2 separate regions of the Homo sapiens genome follow, and region 2 is linked to region 1. The links are contacts of gene promoters, found by promoter capture Hi-C in blood cells and fetal thymus (Javierre and others, 2016). All regions are on one chromosome and are shown on one strand. The core of a region is centred on a gene start or on the middle of the fragment in contact, and the rest is flanking DNA. Distances in the headings are between cores, read along the strand shown. Region 1 holds the start of TMED4 (transmembrane p24 trafficking protein 4). Region 2 has its middle 21 kb from the start of TBRG4.

Region 1 (4,744 bases), core at 624-3,123:
CACCTCCCTGATTCTAGCAATTCTCCTGCCTCAGCCTCCCAAGTAGCTGAGATTACAGGTGTGCACCACCACACCTGGCTAATTTTTGTATTTTTAGTAGAAACAGGGTTTCACCATGTTGGCCAGGCTGGTCTCAAACTCCTGACCTCAAGTGATCCTTCCACCTCAGCCTCCCAAAGTGCTGGGATTACAGGCATGAGCCACTGTGCCCAGCCAAAATTGTTATATATTAAGAGACATATATTTGTATGAAATGCAGTAAGTAAACCTTGTTTGGACCCTAAATATCTAATGTACAAAATTTTTTAAGGCAATGGGGAAAATTAAACACATACTAGGTATTAAGTGATGTTAAATAATTTTTAAAATTTTGGTGGGTGTGATAATAGTATAAAGTCCTTATCTGTTAGAGACACACACTGACGTATTTATAGGTGAAATGACATGATGTCCAGGATTTGCTTTAATATACAGCACTTCAAAAAAAAATGCAGAAAGGGATACATGAAATGAGAAAGGCAGCAAACTGTTGTTGAAGTTGGATGATGAGTACAGCCCTCCGTTATTATCCAAGGGGGATAATTCCTGGACCCCTACGGATACCAAAATCCAGGTATGCTCAAGTTCTTTATGAAAGTTCATTGTAATTATTCTATTATATAAAAGTTTCGAAATTCTGTTGATAAAATGTATTTTTAGTAGAGACGGGGGTTTCACCTTGTTGGCCCAACTGGTCTCGAATTTCTAACCTCAGATGATCCACCAGCCTTGGCCGCCCAAAGTGTTAGCATTACAGGCGTGAGCCACCGCGCCCGCCTGGCCTTGATAAAAACAGTTTTAACCTTCCGTTGCTTCGATTCCATGCCCACTAAGTAACATTCCAGTTTGTTTTTCACTTTCAAAAGGATGTGCTGTAACTAGGGGATGTAAACAAGCTCCATGACCCTACTTATTCCAAGTTTTCGTTCCACTCTCCCACCTTTTTTTTAAGACAAGGTATCACCCTCGGTCGCCCAGGCTGGAGCGCGATCACTGCTTAATGCATCCTCGACCTCCTGGGTTCAAGCGATTCTCCTGCCTCAGCCTCCCAAGTAGCTGGGACTACATGCGCACACCACCACACCGGTTAATTTTTTGTAGAGACGGGGGTTTCACCATGTTGCCCAGGCTGGTCCCGAACTCCTGGGCTCAAGGGATCCGCCCGCCTCAGCCTCCCAGAGTGCTGGGATTACAGGTGCCAGCCACCGCGCCCGGCCCCAGCTTCTTAAAAGAATGATCCGAAACTATGGCAGCACTGGGCTTTTGGTCCCCACCCAAGAAATGCCCGCTCGCAGAGGCTCGCCGCGGCAGGCTCTCCCGACGTGACAGAGTGTGGGTCTGGATTCAGCCTCGGTTCTTACGAGTCAGATAGGTGGACACGCAAAGCAAAACATCACAGGGCTTTTTGTATTTAGCACAGAAAACACTTGTGAGCCCGAGCTGAGAACCCAAAAGGCACGCTTCAGGCCATCGTAGCCACCAAGCCTGGTCAGATTCCGTCCACCGTCTCCTTGGTGCTCCGAGACCCAAATCGCTGACTGGGGCCGAGGGCGGGCGTGACTGCGCAGGCGTGCCTCCCCTGCGAGATGCCGGAGGTAAGCTGCGGGGTAAGGGGCGAGAAATTAAGGGCGAACGTCATTGCGCATGCGCCCTCTACTCTCGTTGCGGGGGTAGGCGGGCGCCGGGCTGTGTGAGGGGGCGGGGCGCGGCAGTGTTCGGTACGGATGGAGTTGCAGGAGACGGCGAGTACATATCACTGCGCAGGCGTCCTCTTCCCCTAACTCTCAGGGTCGCTAGGGTGGCGCGCAGGCGCAGAGCGATGCGCAAATGTGCGCAGGCGCTTAGGGGCTGAGGCGCGATGGCAGGTGTCGGGGCTGGGCCTCTGCGGGCGATGGGGCGGCAGGCCCTGCTGCTTCTCGCGCTGTGCGCCACAGGCGCCCAGGGGCTCTACTTCCACATCGGCGAGACCGAGAAGCGCTGTTTCATCGAGGAAATCCCCGACGAGACCATGGTCATCGGTCAGGCGGGCTGAGGGTGGGGAGGCCCTTTGTACCCAGCTCAGCCCTCGGCGGCGCTCCCTCCTCCCGAGCCCAGCCGGGTCGCTGGCTCCCCCAGTACCTAGCCTGAGGGTGCCCCGAGGACGCCAGGCCCCCTGCCTAGAGCTCCGGGCCGCACGTCGGAGGGGGCCGGGCGGAGAGGCGGCCCACTAGGGCCGGTCGTGACTATGTGTCTGCCCCGCAGGCAACTATCGTACCCAGATGTGGGATAAGCAGAAGGAGGTCTTCCTGCCCTCGACCCCTGGCCTGGGCATGCACGTGGAAGTGAAGGACCCCGACGGCAAGGTAAGGCTGGCGTTGGCCCACGCAGCCGTTCTTCAGTGGAGCTCCCGTGGGGTGTAAAGCACTGCCTGGAGGAGGCCTCAAGGGACAGGAACTTGCACTTGGAGAGCCTGCGGTATAAAGGTGGGGCCTTCACTCACATATGTTGCAGGTGGTGCTGTCCCGGCAGTACGGCTCGGAGGGCCGCTTCACGTTCACCTCCCACACGCCCGGTGACCATCAAATCTGTCTGCACTCCAATTCTACCAGGATGGCTCTCTTCGCTGGTGGCAAACTGGTAAGAGGATTTTCTCTTTGGCTTCAGCTTAGAATCTCTCACTTGTTTCCAAATTTTGATTTATCAAGATTGTGAAACTTTGTAGCACAGTCAGAATTGGGGAGACAGATGTTGCCTTCTGCTCCACAGCCAGGGACAATAGTGGGTTCCATACCCTGGAACAGACAACTGGAGGCCCCACCACTCATACATTCCATGTTTCCTTGTAGCGGGTGCATCTCGACATCCAGGTTGGGGAGCATGCCAACAACTACCCTGAGATTGCTGCAAAAGATAAGCTGACGGAGCTACAGCTCCGCGCCCGCCAGTTGCTTGATCAGGTGGAACAGATTCAGAAGGAGCAGGATTACCAAAGGGCAAGTGCATATCTCCTTGTAATTTGAGAGGGCAGTTGACCTTTATACCCACTATACCTACTCAAGTTTCTGCTTGGGAGATCAGCTCTGCAGAGAATGGAATGAGAAGTATTGGTTTAGATAGGTTGTTTGTTTGTTGTTTTTGAGACGGAGTTTCACTCTTGTTGCCCATGCTGGAGTGCAATGCCATGATCTTGGCTCACTGCAACCTCCGCCTCCCCAGGTTCAAGCGATTCTCCTGCCTCAGCCTCCTGAGTAGCTGGGATTACAGGCATGCGCCACCATGCCTGGCTAATTTTGTACTTTTAGTAGAGACGGGGGTTTCTCCACGTTGGTCAGGCTGGTCTCGAACTCCCGACATCAAGTGATCCGCCCGCCTCAGCCTCCCAAAGTGCTGGGATTACAGGTGTGAGCTACCGCGCCCTGCCTGTTTTGCTTTTTTATCAAAACATTTTATTGTGGTAAAATATAACACCAAATGTGTCATTTTAACTGTCTATATAGTTCAGTGGTATTAAGTGCCTTCATAATGTTGTGCTACCAACACCATCATCCAGCTCCAGAACTTTTTCATCTTCTCAAACTAAAAATCTGTACTTATTTTGTTTTGTTTTTGAGATGGAGTCTCGCTCTGTTGCCCAGGCTGGAGCGCAGTGGCGCCATCTCGGCTCACTGCACCCTCCGCCTCCCAGGTTCAAGCGATTCTCCTGCCTCAGCCTCCCAAGTAGCTGGGATTACAGGCAAGTGCCACCATGCGTGGCTCATTTTTGTGTTTTTAGTAGAGACTGGGTTTCACCATGTTGGCCAGGCTGGTCTTGAACTCCTGGCCTCAGGCAATCCACTGCCGCAGCCTCCCAAAGTGTTGGGATTACAGGCGTGAGCCACTGCACCCAGCAAATCTGTACTTATTATAAACAATAACTTCCCGTTTCCTTTTGTCCTGACACCCACCATTCTACTTTCTGTCTCTATGATCCTGACTACCCTATCTCATATAAGTGGAATCATTCAGTATTTGTCCTTTTGTGACTGGCTTATTTCACTGAGTATAATGTTCTCACAGTTCATCCATGTTATAGCATGTGTCAGAATTTCTTAAGGCTAATATTCCATTGTATGCATGTGCCACATTTCGCTTTCAGTAGTCATTTTTAAGCTCTATAAAATAAAATGAAGAAAGGACAGTTCACAATCTAGTAATAGCCATTGCCTACCTGTTTTTCTTGGACTCTTGTTGGAAATGGTAGGATCATGATTTCAGTCCTAACAGAGATGCTTGTGGAGGGACAGCCTGTCCCTTTCTTGGGGCAGCCTCAGTGGGGAGACCATAGCACTCCTAATGGAGTCACAGATAGTATTCCAAAAGGAGTTTGGTCCTGGAGTTGAGTAATTACACGCAGGGAGGGACCTCACAACAGCCAGACTGTTTCTCCTGCTCACTTAACCCTGTGTTGCCCCACACAGTATCGTGAAGAGCGCTTCCGACTGACGAGCGAGAGCACCAACCAGAGGGTCCTATGGTGGTCCATTGCTCAGACTGTCATCCTCATCCTCACTGGCATCTGGCAGATGCGTCACCTCAAGAGCTTCTTTGAGGCCAAGAAGCTGGTGTAGTGCCCTCTTTGTATGACCCTTCCTTTTTACCTCATTTATTTGGTACTTTCCCCACACAGTCCTTTATCCACCTGGATTTTTAGGGAAAAAAATGAAAAAGAATAAGTCACATTGGTTCC
Region 2 (4,744 bases), core at 1,673-4,172, 550 kb before region 1:
AACTTAGGACCAGCCAGAAACAAAACAAATATGCTCTTCTAACCAATCACATAGGCAGCCCCCTTTCTAGTGAGCTGCCCCAGCTTCCCCGGGCTGGCTGCCTCCATCAGGGCTCACCTGAGCCTCCCTTTTCCACTGTGAAGCTTTCCCTCCCTTTCCCTCTGCCTGCCTGTGAGTCTTGGCCAAATGCAGTGATGGCGGCCAGCCCCCTTGCTAGAGCAGCTCTAGATGAAGAGATTTTGCCTGTTCTCATGTGGGTGGTCTTTCTGTATTCCCACACCAGAAAGCTAGCTTTTAATGGTCCTCTAATGTTAGCAAAGAAAATAAAATTGCAAAATGTCATGGGGGTAAGTAGGCTGAAGGACCGCCATGTCTGCAGAGCATGGCGGGAGCCACTGAAATCTTTCTAGTAGGCTAGAGCACCCAGCTCTGCCACCGCTAGAGAAAGGACGGCCAAGGGGGCTTCTCCCAGAAACCTCATCTCAGAACCAGGCCTCAGTAGGGCCTTAGGCCCACTGTGGGTCTCTGACCCTGTACGACATGAGTAGTGTGGGACAGCAGTCTGGGCCACTTTTCTAAGAAGACAGAGCAGGGTGGTGCTCTGACTCCCAGCCTGGCCCTGGGGCTCCAGAGGCCAAGGGTAGTCCCAGGGCCACTCCCCAATCCCAGTGTGATACTGGCAAGTCCCTGACCAAGCTGAGCTTCAAGGCCCCCAGCTGTAAAGAAGGGGGCCCCTTGGCTGGAACAGTGAAAAGCCACTCCATTCAGGGCTCATTACCTCCTCATTCTCTACCCAAGGCATTGACCTGAGCCTCAGAATCTCCCCAGGGTCAGTGTTTCTGCAGAGTAGGGGCATCAGCTGGAAATCAAGAGTTTATGGAGATGTAGAGGCCAGGCCTGCTGCCCTCCCTTCTACAACCCCACCCCTGCTGGACTTTCCCTTCTCAGCCCAGGAGACCCAGGCCCCGGTCCCACATACCTTCCTCCCAGGCCCAGTGCCTACCTTTGTCCAGGCTCCCCTTCTCCTCTCCTCCCACCTCCCTGTCAACTGGCAAAGGGCCTTTCTAAAACGTGTCTGATCCTGCCTTGCCACCCTGACCCCTGGCCTGGCCCCCATGGCTCTCCATGGTCCAGCCCTGCCAGCCTCCCCAGCCCTCTCCCACCTCAGTGTTGGAGAAAATGACTCCCCAAAAAGACCCTGTTTCTCTGCACCTGCCAGGCTGCATGATATCTCAGCCTAGGACCATCCATGCTCCTTGCGTCCTTGTGTAGCGCTGGACTCTTCTGAAAGCTCGGGGGCGACTCCCTGTCAGAAGCCTCGCAGCTGGGGAGGAGCCTCTGTGGGTATGCACCTGGGGTCTGCATTTCATGTGCCTGTGCCCCTGGCCACACACAAGTGTTAGCAAATGGACCACAAGTGAACAAGCTGGACAGAGATGACACCATGAGGCCTTAGCCACCAGGGCTGCGCCCAGCATCCTCTGCAGCCCTGCTCTACCTGCTGTGGTCCAGGGCAGAAACAGAGCCAGTGGGACATCCAACCCACCTGCCAATGACCACAGGCCCATGAGGCCCACGGTTCTGCTAGGTACAAGAGAAGGGGCAGAGGGCCCACTGCAGCCTCACAGCCTTGCAGCCCTGGAGTAGGAGGTGGCAGTAGAGCTTTGAAAGATGGGAGGAGAGAACTTTCTAAGCAGGAGCTAGAGGCAGGAGGTGTAGCAACTGTATGCAGGGACATGACTTGGTGAGACAGGAGATGTAGGAAGGGTGTCAGAGCAGACAGACCATGATGAGGGCAGAGGGCTGAGGGCAGGACCTGCACCCAGGGTCGGGACCCCTATAATGAGAGTGAGACCTTCACCGAAGGGTCATGACCCCAATGACAAGGACAGGACATTCACCCAGGAGTCCTGACTCTGATGACAAGGGCTGAGGACCTGCACCAGGGTTGTGACCCTGATGACAAGCATGAGACCTTCACGTGATCAGAGGCCGTGACCCTGATTGCAAGGGCTGAAGGCAGGTCATGTACCCAGGGCCTGTGGCAGTCACCACAAGACCAGGACACACCTGTGGAATAGCATGGCCTCCTCCATCCCTGTCTTTACTCAGAGTTTTGGAGAAAATCCTGACCCAGCTGACCCCATAGGACCAGGAGTGGGGACAGTGTGCTCCAGATGACCACAACCCGGGGCCTCATTTCCCCATCAATCCTGGGCACACAGGAGCTGCTGGGGAGTGAAAGAGCCTGTGCATCTTAGAAGATGATAGGCTGGAGCCAGGCAAGCCAGGGGCCAACAACCTTCCCCTGGGCGCAAGAAGAACCCTACATTCCTTGCCTCTGGGGCTGGTGAGCCTGGAGGAATGGCATTCCTGGAACCCTCTGGCTTCTCCATTTGGCCCTGAGGGCTCTAAGGGCAGCTGTGCACCTAACCCGAACTCCTTGTCCTGCCAACACCTCTCACTCCTCCCCACTGCCCCCCACCAGCCACACAGAACATGTGTTCCCTCCTGGCCCCCCGGGCCCCAGCTCCCTCTGGTAGTTGGAATAGGTCTCATTATTACCCCATTTTACAAATGAGGAAGGAGTAAGCTGCTCAAGGTCACACAACTAGCACAGCCAAGACTAGATTCACACAGGCATGCACTCAAACGCTTCCTCTAGGCCACTTCATTCAAGGTCATGAAGGGCATGAATGCCACACCCCAGCATTTGGACTTCTCCCCCCAGGTAATGGGAAACCGCCGAAGAGTTTCAGATGGGGTTGTGATAGGATCATGCCCAGGCGTGAAAGGCCATGCTGGACAGAGCATTGACAACTAACTGGAAAGTGGGGAGGCCTGATATAGTCTTCCCTCCCTCCATCCCTGCCTCCTTCCCTCCCTCTCCCACCTCCTCCCTCCCTCCTCCCCTCTCTCCTTCCCTCCCTCCCTCCCTCTCCTCCTTCCTCCCTCCCTTCCTCCTTTTTTCCCTCCCTTCCTTCCCATTAAAGGCTAATGCCCCAGATGCTGCAAATGTGCTGTTCAACAAGATGAGAGAGGTCCTGTGCTCTGGAGGACAGTATACAGGACATCTCATGAACAAATCAGATCGTCTGTAGTCAGACAAGTGTGTTAAGGCGGTTGTTGCAGTGGCCGATGCCACAACAGCCCATCCCAGGGCAGCAGCCCAGAAGAGCTGACAGGAACACACTCAAGAGGGTTTTGGAGGGGCATCCACCAGTGGCCCAACCTCTTGGTAACTGATTAGATGGAGAAACACAAAAGGGAGGCCCTCCAAGTCTCTGGCTGTGAGGAACCATTCCCAGGGAAAGGAGATGTGGGAGGAGGCCAAGTTCTGCATTGGCAACAGTGGGCAGATGTGGGTCCAAGGCCTCTGAAGGCTGAACAGATGGGCGTGCTCCGGACCAGGCAGGGCCCTGGTTGTGCCTGGGAGCTGCTGCCAGGGATGCAGGGGTGGGGGCTAGGGCAGGGGCTCAGGGAGCGTGGGCGGATGCTTCCCACAGGATGAGGGGAGGGGAGAGCAGAGAAAGGGGATAGTGGCAGTGCCATAGACATTCCCTGAGGAGTGAGGACTATAGAGGGACAAGAAACAGGAGGGAGGCTGGGGGAGCTGGGGTGCAGGGGCAGTTTGAAGGAGGACTGCAGAGGCTGGACACCACTGAGAAGGAAAGACCCAGCCAACCTGAGCTCATGGAACTAGCAGTTACTTTACGCGTAGAATAATTTTATCTGTAGGAAAACAGCCCTGGGATTTCCAACTTCATATGAAAGTAGTAGGGGATTGGCCAGGCGTGGTGGCTCATGCCTGTAATCCCAGCACTTTGGGAGGCTGAGGCGAGTGGACCACCTGAGGTCAGGAGTTCAAGACCAGCCTGGCCAACATGGCAAAACCCCGTCTGTACTAAAAAATACAAAAATTAGCCGGGTGTGGTGGTGGGAGCCTGTAATCCCAGCTACTCGGGAGTCTGAGGCAGGGAGAATTGCTTGAACCCAGGAGGCAGAGGTTGCAGTGATCTGAGATTGCACCACTGCACTCCAAACCGGGTGACAGTGAGACTCTGTCTCAAAAAAAAAAGAAAGTAGTTGGGGTTGAAACAACACGATGTTTCAGATTTAAATTCCAACAACAACACAAACAATAGTAACATGAGTCCGACAAAATGTTGACAAGGTTAATCTAGACCATCGGTCTGTGAGTACCTATTGAACTATTATTTTTACTTTGCTGTATGTTTAAAATTATCATAATAAAAAGTAAAAATAAAAGCCTCCACCATCACCCATCGACCTATCTACCCAGTGGGCAGGATGAGCGTGTCTGCTCATGAGGTGTCGGGGACCAGCCCTGCATACCCAGGTGTGCCAGCAGGGACTGGGAATCGGGCCAGATGCTTGGAGGACACTTGGGCGGGGCCTCCCATGTGGGCGAAACATGGACCCTTTGGCCCAGCATCTCCGCCTCTACACTGGTACCCTGCAGAGCTCCCTGCCCACATGCCGAAAGCTGGGGTCTTCTGTGGTAGCAAAGAATCAGAAACAACCTAAATGTCCATCAATAGGAGACTAGCAATTATGTGGACACATCCATACCGAGGGGACTAAGCCGCCACTCAGAAGCAGGCGTGTGTCATTAAAACCCAGCCAAACTGAGCTCACAGAACTAGCTCAGTTTGGCTGAGCTAAATGGATGTTCCCCAAATGGAAAAAAAAAAAAAAAAAGGAGGGGGAGACAGTGTGCACA

The links. The method cuts DNA at HindIII sites, captures the fragments that hold promoters and counts their contacts. A CHiCAGO score of 5 or more calls a contact.
Region 2: a fragment that was not itself captured here is called in contact with the fragment with the promoter of TMED4 in region 1 in 1 of 17 cell types (naive CD4 T cells); the score reaches 5.4 in naive CD4 T cells.

Annotation. Positions count from the first base shown.
Region 1 is chr7:44,579,360-44,584,103 of GRCh38, reverse strand. TMED4 (transmembrane p24 trafficking protein 4) reads left to right here and starts at 1,873. Exons shown (of 5, transcript NM_182547.4): 1 at 1,873-2,057; 2 at 2,281-2,381; 3 at 2,530-2,655; 4 at 2,865-3,011; 5 at 4,476-4,744. The coding sequence starts at 1,898. The coding sequence ends at 4,625. RefSeq lists an enhancer at 1,390-1,499 and silencers at 1,590-1,749, 2,150-2,249. The HindIII fragment of the contact is 9,471 bases long and covers 1-4,744 here.
Region 2 is chr7:45,130,762-45,135,505 of GRCh38, reverse strand. No RefSeq gene overlaps it. Among named protein-coding and RNA genes, the nearest start is that of TBRG4, 21 kb to the right of the region's middle. RefSeq lists an enhancer at 1,185-1,685. The HindIII fragment of the contact is 5,554 bases long and covers 146-4,744 here.